Regions from separate parts of the Homo sapiens genome. Here region 1 is linked to region 2. The links are contacts of gene promoters, found by promoter capture Hi-C in blood cells and fetal thymus (Javierre and others, 2016). All regions are on one chromosome and are shown on one strand. The core of a region is centred on a gene start or on the middle of the fragment in contact, and the rest is flanking DNA. Distances in the headings are between cores, read along the strand shown. Region 1 overlaps RFXANK (regulatory factor X associated ankyrin containing protein). Region 2 holds the start of HAPLN4 (hyaluronan and proteoglycan link protein 4).

Evidence for each region. Contacts are between HindIII fragments. The CHiCAGO score rates a contact against its expected background, and 5 or more counts as called.
Region 1: a fragment that was not itself captured here is called in contact with the fragment with the promoter of HAPLN4 in region 2 in 2 of 17 cell types (M1 macrophages and M0 macrophages); the score reaches 6.6 in M1 macrophages.

The regions. Positions count from the first base shown.
Region 1 is chr19:19,197,063-19,201,932 of GRCh38, reverse strand. It overlaps RFXANK (regulatory factor X associated ankyrin containing protein), which reads right to left. Exons shown (of 10, transcript NM_003721.4): 5 at 4,682-4,747; 6 at 4,312-4,412; 7 at 3,701-3,826; 8 at 3,210-3,276; 9 at 2,699-2,779; 10 at 67-284. The coding sequence ends at 214. NR2C2AP (nuclear receptor 2C2 associated protein) reads left to right here. Exons shown (of 5, transcript NM_176880.6): 5 at 1-524. The coding sequence ends at 8. Among named protein-coding and RNA genes, the nearest start is that of NR2C2AP, 3.9 kb to the left of the region's middle. The HindIII fragment of the contact is 3,765 bases long and covers 1-3,415 here.
Region 2 is chr19:19,259,592-19,264,709 of GRCh38, reverse strand. HAPLN4 (hyaluronan and proteoglycan link protein 4) reads left to right here and starts at 1,906. Exons shown (of 5, transcript NM_023002.3): 1 at 1,906-1,980; 2 at 3,147-3,264; 3 at 3,535-3,897. The coding sequence starts at 1,978. It overlaps TM6SF2 (transmembrane 6 superfamily member 2), which reads left to right. Exons shown (of 10, transcript NM_001001524.3): 10 at 1-344. The coding sequence ends at 46. The HindIII fragment of the contact is 10,345 bases long and covers 1-5,118 here.

The sequences.
Region 1 (4,870 bases), core at 284-2,783, 62 kb after region 2:
AGGTGTGAGACCTCTAGGGGCTGTCTCCTCCAGGAAGCCCTCCGGGAAGCACAGCAAAGTCCCTCATTCTGCACAGAAGGTTTATTGGTTCCTCTTGGGAAGGGTCCCCTCCCACCACCTGTCCAGAAGCTGCCTTTGAAGTCAGTTCTGGGTTTCCCCAGCTCTGGCTGACCATTTTGTTCCCTGAGTGTCTGAGTCCCCGGCAGGCGGCCTTCACTCAGGGTCAGCGGGCACCAGGTTGCTCTGGAAGAGCTTGAGGATGTGGTTCTCGATCACCTGTTGCACTGAGATGGGGCAGGGAAAAGGTGGGCTGTGAGCTTGAATCGGGAGTGGGGTGGAGGCACAGGCCAACCTGCGCTCTCCCCTTAGGGGACAAACAGGGACCCTTGCAGAGACCTGCATTACAGAGCAAAGCTGGGAGAACCGAGGACTCACCCCAGGAACCTCAACTTCCCCTAAGTTTGTAAAAATGCACTTTTGTAGCTTTTCAGAATTAATATAAAAATATTTCCTACCAAGCAAAATGTGTGAATTGTGACTTTCATGAAAAGATGAGCCTGGGCATGGTGGCTCACACCTATAATCCCAGCACTTTGGGAGGTCCAGTGGGGAGGACTGCTTGAGCTCAGGAATTTGAGGCCAGCTTGGGCAACAGAGCAAAACGCTGTCTCTACCAAAAAAATTTAAAAATTAGGCTGGGCTTGGTGGCTCACACCTGTAATCCTAGCACTTTGGGAGGCCAAGGTAGGTGGATCACTTGAAGTCAGGAAAGGCCAGCCTGACCAACATGATGAAACCCCATCTCTACTAAAACTACAAAAATTAGCCAGGTGCAGCCGGGTGTGGTGGCTCATGCCTGTAATCCCAGCACTTTGGGAAGCTGAGGCGGGTGGATCACCTGAGGTCGGGAGTTTGAGATCACCTGACCAACATGGAGAAACCCTGACTCTACTAAAAATGCAAAAAATTAGTTGGGCATGGTGGTGCATGCCTGTAATCCCAGCTACTTGGGAGGCTGAGGCAGGAGAATTGCTTGAACCTGGGAGGCGGAAGTTGCAGTGAGCCGAGATCACGCCATAGCACTCCAGCCTGGGCAACAAGAGCGAAACTCCATCTCAAAAAAAAAAAAAAAAAAAAAAAAAAATTAGCCAGGTGTGGTGGCAGGCACTTGTAATCCCAGCTATTCAGGAGGCTGAGGCAGGAGAATTGTTTGCCTGGGAGGCAGAGGTTGCAGTGAGCCGAGATTGTGCCACTGCACTCCAGCCTGGGTGACAGAGCGAGACTCTGTCTCAAAAAATAAATAAAAAAGATTTTAAAAATTAGCTGGGTAGAGTGGTACATGCCTGTAGTCCCAGCTACTCAGGAGGCTGGGGAAGAAGGATCACTTGAGCCCAGGAGTTTGAGACCAGCCTGGGCAACATAGCGAGACCCTGTCTCTTCTAAAAAAACAACAACACAGCCAGGCGTGGTGGCTCACACCTGTAATCCCAGCACTTTGGGAGGCCAACACAGGCGGATCACAAGGTCAGGAGTTCAAGACCAGCCTGACCAACATGGTGAAACCCCGTCTCTACTAAAAATATAAAAATTAGCCGGGCGTCATGGTGTGCACCTGTGGTCCCAGCTACTCAGGAGGCTGAGGCAGGAGAATCGCTTGAACCTGGGAGGTGGAAGTTGCAGTGAGCCGAGATGGCGCCATTGCACTCCAGCCTGGGTGACAGCGCGAGACTCCATGTCCAAAAAAAAAAAAAAAAAAAGCAACAACAAAAAATTAGCCAGGCATGGTGACGAATGCCTGTGGTCCCAGCTACTCGGGAGGCTGTGGTGGGAGGATCACTTGAGCCTGGGAGATCGAGGCTGCAGTAAGCTGTGCCTGCACCACTTCATTCCAGCCTGGGTGATAGAGCAAGACTTTCTGCCTCGAACAAAAAAACAAACCCCCCGAAAACATGAGGAGGGAAGAGGAATGATTTCTGTCCCAAACACAGTAAAACTCTGAAGGAAGGAGGGGGATATTTCCTAAGCACCCCATCTCTACCATGACCCCAGGGGGTCGGTTCAATTGGGATCTCCCCATTTTATGGATGGGGAAGTTGGGGTCCCATTGTGACAGAGAAAATGGAGTCAAACTGGGGTCTGCCTATGGCCCCTGTTCAAACCCACTGCCCGCCACGGAGAGGGATGGCCTCTGTGGCTCTGTGCACTATGGCCTGGTCGCCTACCCCTTGGTGTCCTCACTGCCAGGCCTCCGCAGGGGCCACTCCTCCCACCTGGATGCCATTCTCCCTCCCTTCAGGTCCCCCAGAATCCTTCCCTGACCTCCCCATCCCAGGGCTGGGCCCACCTCACTTCTCGGGGTCTCAACCTTAAGACACCTTCCTCCAGGAAGCCTCTCTGACTTCTGTTGGCCACTTTGGGGCTCTTTGATGAGAGGCCCCTCTTTCGGCCTCTCATGCCTATGTGTCCCCCATCATGGCCACAGCCACTGACACCCATTGTCCTCCCTACCCCAGCACATGTGGAGCCCCAGGAGCCAGGACTGGGATGTTCCCAGGCGGGATACACAGCAGTGCTCAACACCTGTCAACACACTCTCGCTGCCGGCGTATGACCACTGAAGGGGTGTCCCATGTACCCCTTTATGGTCACCCTGCCTATGGAAGGGACCCCACCCCTGCTCTGTGTGTCTCAGGCTGACCTTTCCGGTATCCCAGGGCCACGGCAAGGTCCATCGGGGTGTAGCCAGAGTCGGCTTCGGTGGTGAGGTCAGCGCCTCGGGCTGCAAAGGAGAGGGGAGGGCGCTGGAGGGTGGGGCCTGGGAGTCCAGAATGGGGTCTGGGGACCTGGGAGATCCCATGGCACCCCTCATTCCCCACAATGCAGCCGTGGGTCTGCCCGTTGCCCATGTGGCCTTTGACAAGGGTCCAACCTCTGCTATCTTGGTCTCCACTGAAGAACGTGGCTGAAGGGTCTCTGAACCATGGAGGATGGAGGTGCTTAGCCTCTTGGCCAGATCCTAAACCCAGACCCCGACTCCCGTGTGGTCCTACCACCTCCTCCCCTCTGATCCATCCTCCGAGAAGAGCAGGCAGGGACTACCTGCTCCAAGAACTCTTCAAGCAACACTTGGGCGTCTCCCTGCCCTCAGGATTCCCGCAGGGCCCGCTGGAGTGCTGGGGCCCCCAGGGCCACTCCCGACTCCCACTCACCCAGCAAGGCCTCAACGCATTTCACGTGGTTCCCGCGCACAGCGTACAGCAGTGGCGTCCCTCCATTCTGTCGTGGGTAGGGGCAGGAGAAACCAAAGGTTTACCTCTTCCTCATTCTCAAAATGCCTTGTACTCTCTGGCCTCCAGTTGAACGTGGTTCCTCCTGCTCATCACTGGGCCCATCTCACTTTCTGGGGTCTCAAGCTTAGACACCTTCCTCCAGGAAGACCTCTCTGATTTCCCTTGCCCACATGGGGCTCTTGTAGCCACCTGTGCATCTGCCATCGCAGCGCAGTTCACTGCATCTCAGCTGCCTGTTTCCATGTCTGCCTTCCCTGCATGGGGAGCTCTGCTCTGTGAGGCTGGGAATGGGGCTGTCTCGTGTTCTCGGCACCTAGAGCAGGCCTGCACCTTTCAAGTACTCTGTGAACATTTGAGGCAGGAATGAAGGCCAGGAGGCTGAGAGGTCCTGGGGATGGGCAGTCCCTCACCCAATCATAGATGTTGATGTCCACGTCACGCTCCAGCAGCAGCCCCACAATGTCTGTGTAGCCGCCTGTGCTGGCCAGCGACAGGGCGCTCTCTCGCTCTTTTGCCAGGATGTGGGGGTCGGCACCCTGCAGGGAGAAGAAGGGACAGTGGTAGGATGGATTGGGGCATAACCAGGAATCCTGGGGTACCCACAGCAGCCGCATCTTTTTTTTTTTTTTTGGAGATAGAGTCTTGCTCTGTTGCCCAGGCTGGAGTGCAGTGGCGCAATCTCGGCTCACTGCTACCTCCGCCTCCCAGGTTCACACAGTTCTCCCACCTCAGCCTCCAGAGTACCTGGGATTACAGGCACCCACCACGACGCCTGGCTAATTTTTGTATTTTTTTAGTAGAGACAGGGTTTCACCCATGTTGGCCGGGCTGGTCTTGAACTCCTGACCTCAAGTGATCCACCCGCCTCGGCCTCCCAAAGTGCTGGGATTACAGGCATGAGCCACTGCACCCAGCCAGCAGCCGCATCTCAAAGACAAGGCGCCAGCAGACACAGCCAAAACCCCAGCCCACCCTAAGGCCCCCGGGAACCCCCCAGCTGCCCAGCTGGGCTGGGACGCACCCACTCCAGCAGGAAGCGAACGGTCTCAATCTCTCCAAAGGCGGAGGCCCAGATGAGGGGGGTGAAGCCGCGCTCGTCTGGCTTGTTGACGAGGTTGTCACCTGGCAGGAGGAGGCGGGCAATACCACCAGGCTGCACCCCTGCCCCCTATCCCCAGTGCTGCCAAATGGGGACGAGGTGGGGGGCTGGGGTTAGACAGGGGAATGAGGGGGAGCGTATGTTGATGGACATACATGAACACGGTCACACACACAGTTAGATACAATCATACACGTGGACACTCACAGGTCACGTCATGAGTGGGTATGGACACCCATATGCACACACCAGCCAGGTGCAGACATGCCAGCACATGTGTGTGGACACGCACCTTTCCGCAAATGCTCCTTCAGCTGGTCCAGCTCCCCCTGTGCTGCGAGCTGGTGGATGGACAGGGCTGGGGCAGGACAGAGGCAGAGTCCTCACTCATCCCCTTGCTTCTCTGTGCCTCAGTTTACCCTCTGTCCACGATTGCTCCTCACAGGCCCTCCCACCCTCCTACTCCTCTCCTTGTTGGGGA
Region 2 (5,118 bases), core at 657-3,156:
GCCACCACCCTCCGACCCCCTAGCCCTCCACAAGAAGCAGCATTGAGAGAGCTGTGGACTCAGGACCCAGGACTCTGTTTACGTGCCCAGTCAGCCCTACCTGGGGAAGCGGGGGTTGGGTGTTTTAGAGACAGGAGGGACATCTCCGGGTGTCTTTAGTCTTGGCTATGGTAGTTTCAGTCCAGTGGGTGGGATGGAGACCAACGACCAAGTGTTCCTGCAAGGAGAGCCTCCCACAGCTGTCACCATGCTCCAACTCCCACACAAACGCTTCTACCCCTTCCAGAACTTACCCATCATCCCCCCATGGATCCTTTCAGTAAAAACCCTTTCAATTTCCAAAATATCACTGCCTAAGTGTTTCAGGGTGCAGGGGCAAGGGATCCTCTTCTTGGCCCCCATGAGGGCCCACCTATCACTGCCATCGTGGTTGCCAGGAGTGAGAGGTGCTGGGATAGCAGAAGGCGGCCTCTGGTTGGTATGCACGGCTCATCTTCCAGATGGGAAAACCGAGGCTCAGTATGGACAAGAGACCTGCCCAAGGTCATGGCCAGAGAGAAAAGTTCCTGCTCTACCAATAAATCATAACTAATAGCATGATACATTTATTAAGCACCTACTGTATACCTTGACTGCTACATGCTGGATCTCACTCCATATTCCAGATGGGGAAACCAAGGCTGCAGGAGGTGAAGGTCCTGGTCTGAGATCATTCCCCCGCTCAGTCCCCAAGGCATGGCTGAGCTAAGAGATGGAGCCCCAGCCTGTTGGACCACAGAAACCACAACTCTGCCTCTCCTATCTGGTCGGGTTGGGCTCATTTTAGGGGAAACTGAGTCCTGGAAGGAAGCCAAGGTGTTAGGAGAAAGACTCACTGTTTGCTATTGTTTGATTTTTTGAAATTGGGTGAAAGGCCAGGTTTAGGGGCGACTTGGGCCTGGAGTAAGTCAGGGACCTTGACCAGATGTCCCTTTTCCTTTTCTTTCTTTCTTTTTCTTTTTCTTTTTTTTTTTTTTTTTTGAGACGGAGTTTTCACTCTTGTTGCCCCGGCTGATATGCAATGGCACGATCTTGGCTCACCACAACCTCCACCTCCTGGGTTCAAGCAATTCTCCTGCCTCAGCCCCCTGAGTAGCTGGGATTACAGGCATGTGCCACCACACCTGGCTAATTTTGTATTTTTAGTAGAGACAGAGTTTCTCCATGTTGGTCAGGTTGGCCTCGCACTCCTGACCTCAGGTGATCCTCCCATCTTGGCCTCACAAAGTGCTGGGATTACAGACGTGAGCCACCGCGCCCGGCCTAGATGTCCCTTTTTCTTGCCCCTCCCAACCCCTACCGGAGATCTACTGTATGTCTAGCTACTGGATCTTCACCAAAGAGTCAGCAGCAGGCTCAGAGAGGCCAACTGTCTCCTCCAAGGTCTCACAGCCAGTGAGGGGCAGACTTGAATTGGGGCCTGTGGCTCCAGTCCACAGCAGAGTGTGACTATCGTGAGGCCCCCACCCTGCACAGGGAGCGCCTTTGGGGTGCTGGAGACCAGGACTCCACTATGACTACCCAATGGACAGGTGGCCTGCAGGCCAAATGATCTCTTTCACCAGATCCCCCAGGTCCCCTGCCAAAGCACAGTAACCAAGATAGAAGACTCAGCCCCCTCCTCCATTTCAAAGATGGTTAAACTGAGGCTCAGAGAGGTTCTTCCCTGGCCTAAGTTCAGCTAGCAGGGTGAGGGAACTAGCTCTGCACTCCAAGTCCAGAGCGCTTCTTTCTCCGCCCGCGCTCCAGCCACTGCTCCAGGGGAGCGTGGGCCCCCGCGGCCCCTTTAATACACCCCGCCTCGCCCGCCTTCCTCCTCCCCTTGCAGGCAGACGCCGGGATTGCGCCGCCTGCAGGGACCTGCCCAGTCTTAACCGGGTGTGCGGGGAGCGCAGTCCGGGTGCGTAGGGGCCGCTCGGCGGGGGCCGCGCGGGCAAGATGGTAAGTGGGGCTGCGGGCGCGGGTGGTGTGTGCCCCGTCTCCCCAATCTTGGATTCTATATCTCTCTGCCTCTGAATCTATATCCCTCTGAGTTTCTTCTGTCTCTTCCTTTTCTCTGTCTCTCACCCTCTTTGATCTCTCTTTTTGGCACTCTAGGTTCTCTCCCTCTCCATTTCTCCCTGCCTCTCTCCATCTCTGTCATCCTCTCTGCCTTTTTCCTCTCCTCTCCGTTTCTGTCTTTCCCTGTCCCTATCTCTCCCTCCTCTTCTCTGAGTCTCTCTGCCTCTGGCACTCTCCTGTCTCTCCCTCTCCCTTTCTGTCTCTCCCTCTCCCTCTCTGTCGCTCCCTCTGCCTCTCTGTCTCTCCCTCTGCCTCTCTGTCTCCCTCTGCCTCTCTGTCTCTCCCTCTCCATCTGTGTCTCTCCCTCTCCATCTCTGTCTCTTCCTCTGCCTCTCTCTCTCTCCCTCTGCTTCTCTGTCTCTTCCTCTCTGTCTCTCCCTTTCCATCTCTGTCTTTCCCTCTCCATCTCTGTATCTTCCTCTGCCCCTCTGTCTCTCCCTCTGCCTCTCTGTCTCTCCCTCTCCATCTCTGTCTCTCCCTCTACATCTGTCTCTTCTTTTCCATCTGTCTCTCCCTCTCCATCTCTGCCTCTCTCTCTTCCCTTCCCCTTTTTCTGTGTCGCGCACTCTCTTCTCTGCCTCTCCCTGCCTTTCTCTCTGTCCCTGTTCTCTCCCCGCGTCTCTCCCTCTTTCTCTCCAGCTCTCCCCCCTCCCTGCCCGCCCCGGCCCGGTTTGCTGCAGTCTCCTGGCGCACGGATAACCTTGCTGCCGCCGCTCCTCCAGCTCTTCCCCACCCCCCTATCCCCGGCCCGGGCCAGGGCCAGAAGGGGGCGGGGCAGCGAGCCTCGGGTTTTGGGGTGGGGGGGAATGAGGCGGGATCTGGGGCAGGACTGAGGGCGGGGGGGAGTCTAGGGGCGTGGGTTCTTGCAGAAGCTAGGATGTGAGGTCCCAAGAGGAGGAGGGGGAGTTCTCCAGGACCCCGGAAAGGGTGGGGACATGGGCGTGAGAGAGGTCCTCGCTGTGGGGAAGGCAGGCCCGGGAGGGAGCCAGGCCTCCGAAAAGCCAAGGCTGGGAGGCTGGACTGAGCGCCCCGTGCCCGCCCCCCAGGTGTGCGCTCGGGCGGCCCTCGGTCCCGGCGCGCTCTGGGCCGCGGCCTGGGGCGTCCTGCTGCTCACAGCCCCTGCGGGGGCGCAGCGTGGCCGGAAGAAGGTCGTGCACGTGCTGGGTGAGTCAGGGCCGCTAAAAGTGGTCTTCTCCGCGAAAAGCAGAAGTGGCCAAGTGCGGAGAGGGGTAGCGGGTAGGGCGTTCCTGACGTCCGCGGTTCCCCCAGCCACTCCCCATCTGAGCCCCTCGCCCTCTCCCTGAGCCCCTGGACCCTTCTGATTCCCCGACCCCCACCCGAGTCTTCCCACGTTCCCCTCCCCAGAGACACCTTCCCCAGAGGCCCCCTTCTGCCCCTAGGCCCCTCCTCTGAACCCTGCTTGGTTGTCCTCAGAGGGTGAGTCGGGCTCGGTAGTGGTACAGACAGCGCCTGGGCAGGTGGTAAGCCACCGTGGTGGCACCATCGTCTTGCCCTGCCGCTACCACTATGAGGCAGCCGCCCACGGTCACGACGGCGTCCGGCTCAAGTGGACAAAGGTGGTGGACCCGCTGGCCTTCACCGACGTCTTCGTGGCACTAGGCCCCCAGCACCGGGCATTCGGCAGCTACCGTGGGCGGGCTGAGCTGCAGGGCGACGGGCCTGGGGATGCCTCCCTGGTCCTCCGCAACGTCACGCTGCAAGACTACGGGCGCTATGAGTGCGAAGTCACCAATGAGCTGGAAGATGACGCTGGCATGGTCAAGCTGGACCTGGAAGGTGATCAGCCGGTGGGGAGGATAAACCTTGCTTCTGAGGAAGGAGGGGGGCGGGGATGGCAAGGGACATAAACCAAATCAAGTTGGCCTGCAGGCATTTAGAAGGTTGGTTGGGGTAGAGCCCCCATATCTGGTTCTGGGTGATTTTCCTCCCCAGGGACATTGGCGATGTCTGGAGATATTTTACGTTGTCACATCTGGAGAAGGCAGTTGCTACTAGCCCCTAGTGGGTAGAGGCCAGGGATGCAGCTATACATCCTACCAGGCACAGGATAGTCCCCCACAAGGAGTGATCCAGGCCGGGCATGGTGGCTCACGACTGTAATCCCAGCACTTTGGGAGGTTGAGGCAGGCGGATCACCTGAGGTCAGGAGTTCAAGACCAGCCTGGCCAACATGCCAAAACCCCATCTCTAGTAAAAATACAAAAATTAGCCAGGCATGGTGGTGCATTCCTGTAATTCTAGCTACTTGGGAGGCTGAGGCAGGAAAATCTCTTGAACCCGGGAGGTGGAGGTTGCGGTGAGTGGAGATCGTGCCACTGCACTCCAGCCTGGGCGACAGAGCGAGACTCCATCTCAAAAATAAATAAATAAATACATAAATAAAATAAAATAAAAGTGATCCAGTCCAAAATGTCCACAATGAGGACACTGAGAAGTCCTGGGATAGGATTCAGGCACAGTGAGATCCAGGCACTCACACCGTGTCAGGAACCATCCTTCTGCTCTGCTTCCCAGGTAGGCTTTCTTCCGACAGGCTTCTCTTTCTGGAACCAAGACCACAGTGCCTAGGCTTTCACTTCCCTGCTTAGCAACTGATTTCCTAGGAGCAGCAGCTAGAGTCCCAGAGTTGTCCCTCACTGGCTCAGCTTGAGTCATGTGCCCAACTGTGAGCCAATCACTGTAGCTGGAAGATGGGATGCTCTGATTGGCTCACCCTGGAGCTGGGAGGTGGGGTTTCTATTTGAAGAATTCCCTCCCATTTGATTGGCCTTTTCCAGTTCTCTTTAGAAGATTCTAGGTGAGATTTCAGGGCCCTTGCTTGCTGACCTCCCTAACAATAACAAATAACAACAATAATAGCAGCAGCTCTCCTTTACTGGACATTTTCTGTGGCAGGTGCTTAGTTGAAGAGTTCTCAGGAGTCTCTAATTTAATTTCCTAAAAACCCCAAGGGAGACAGCTATTACCAGCAGATGGACAACAGGCTCAGAGAGGTTA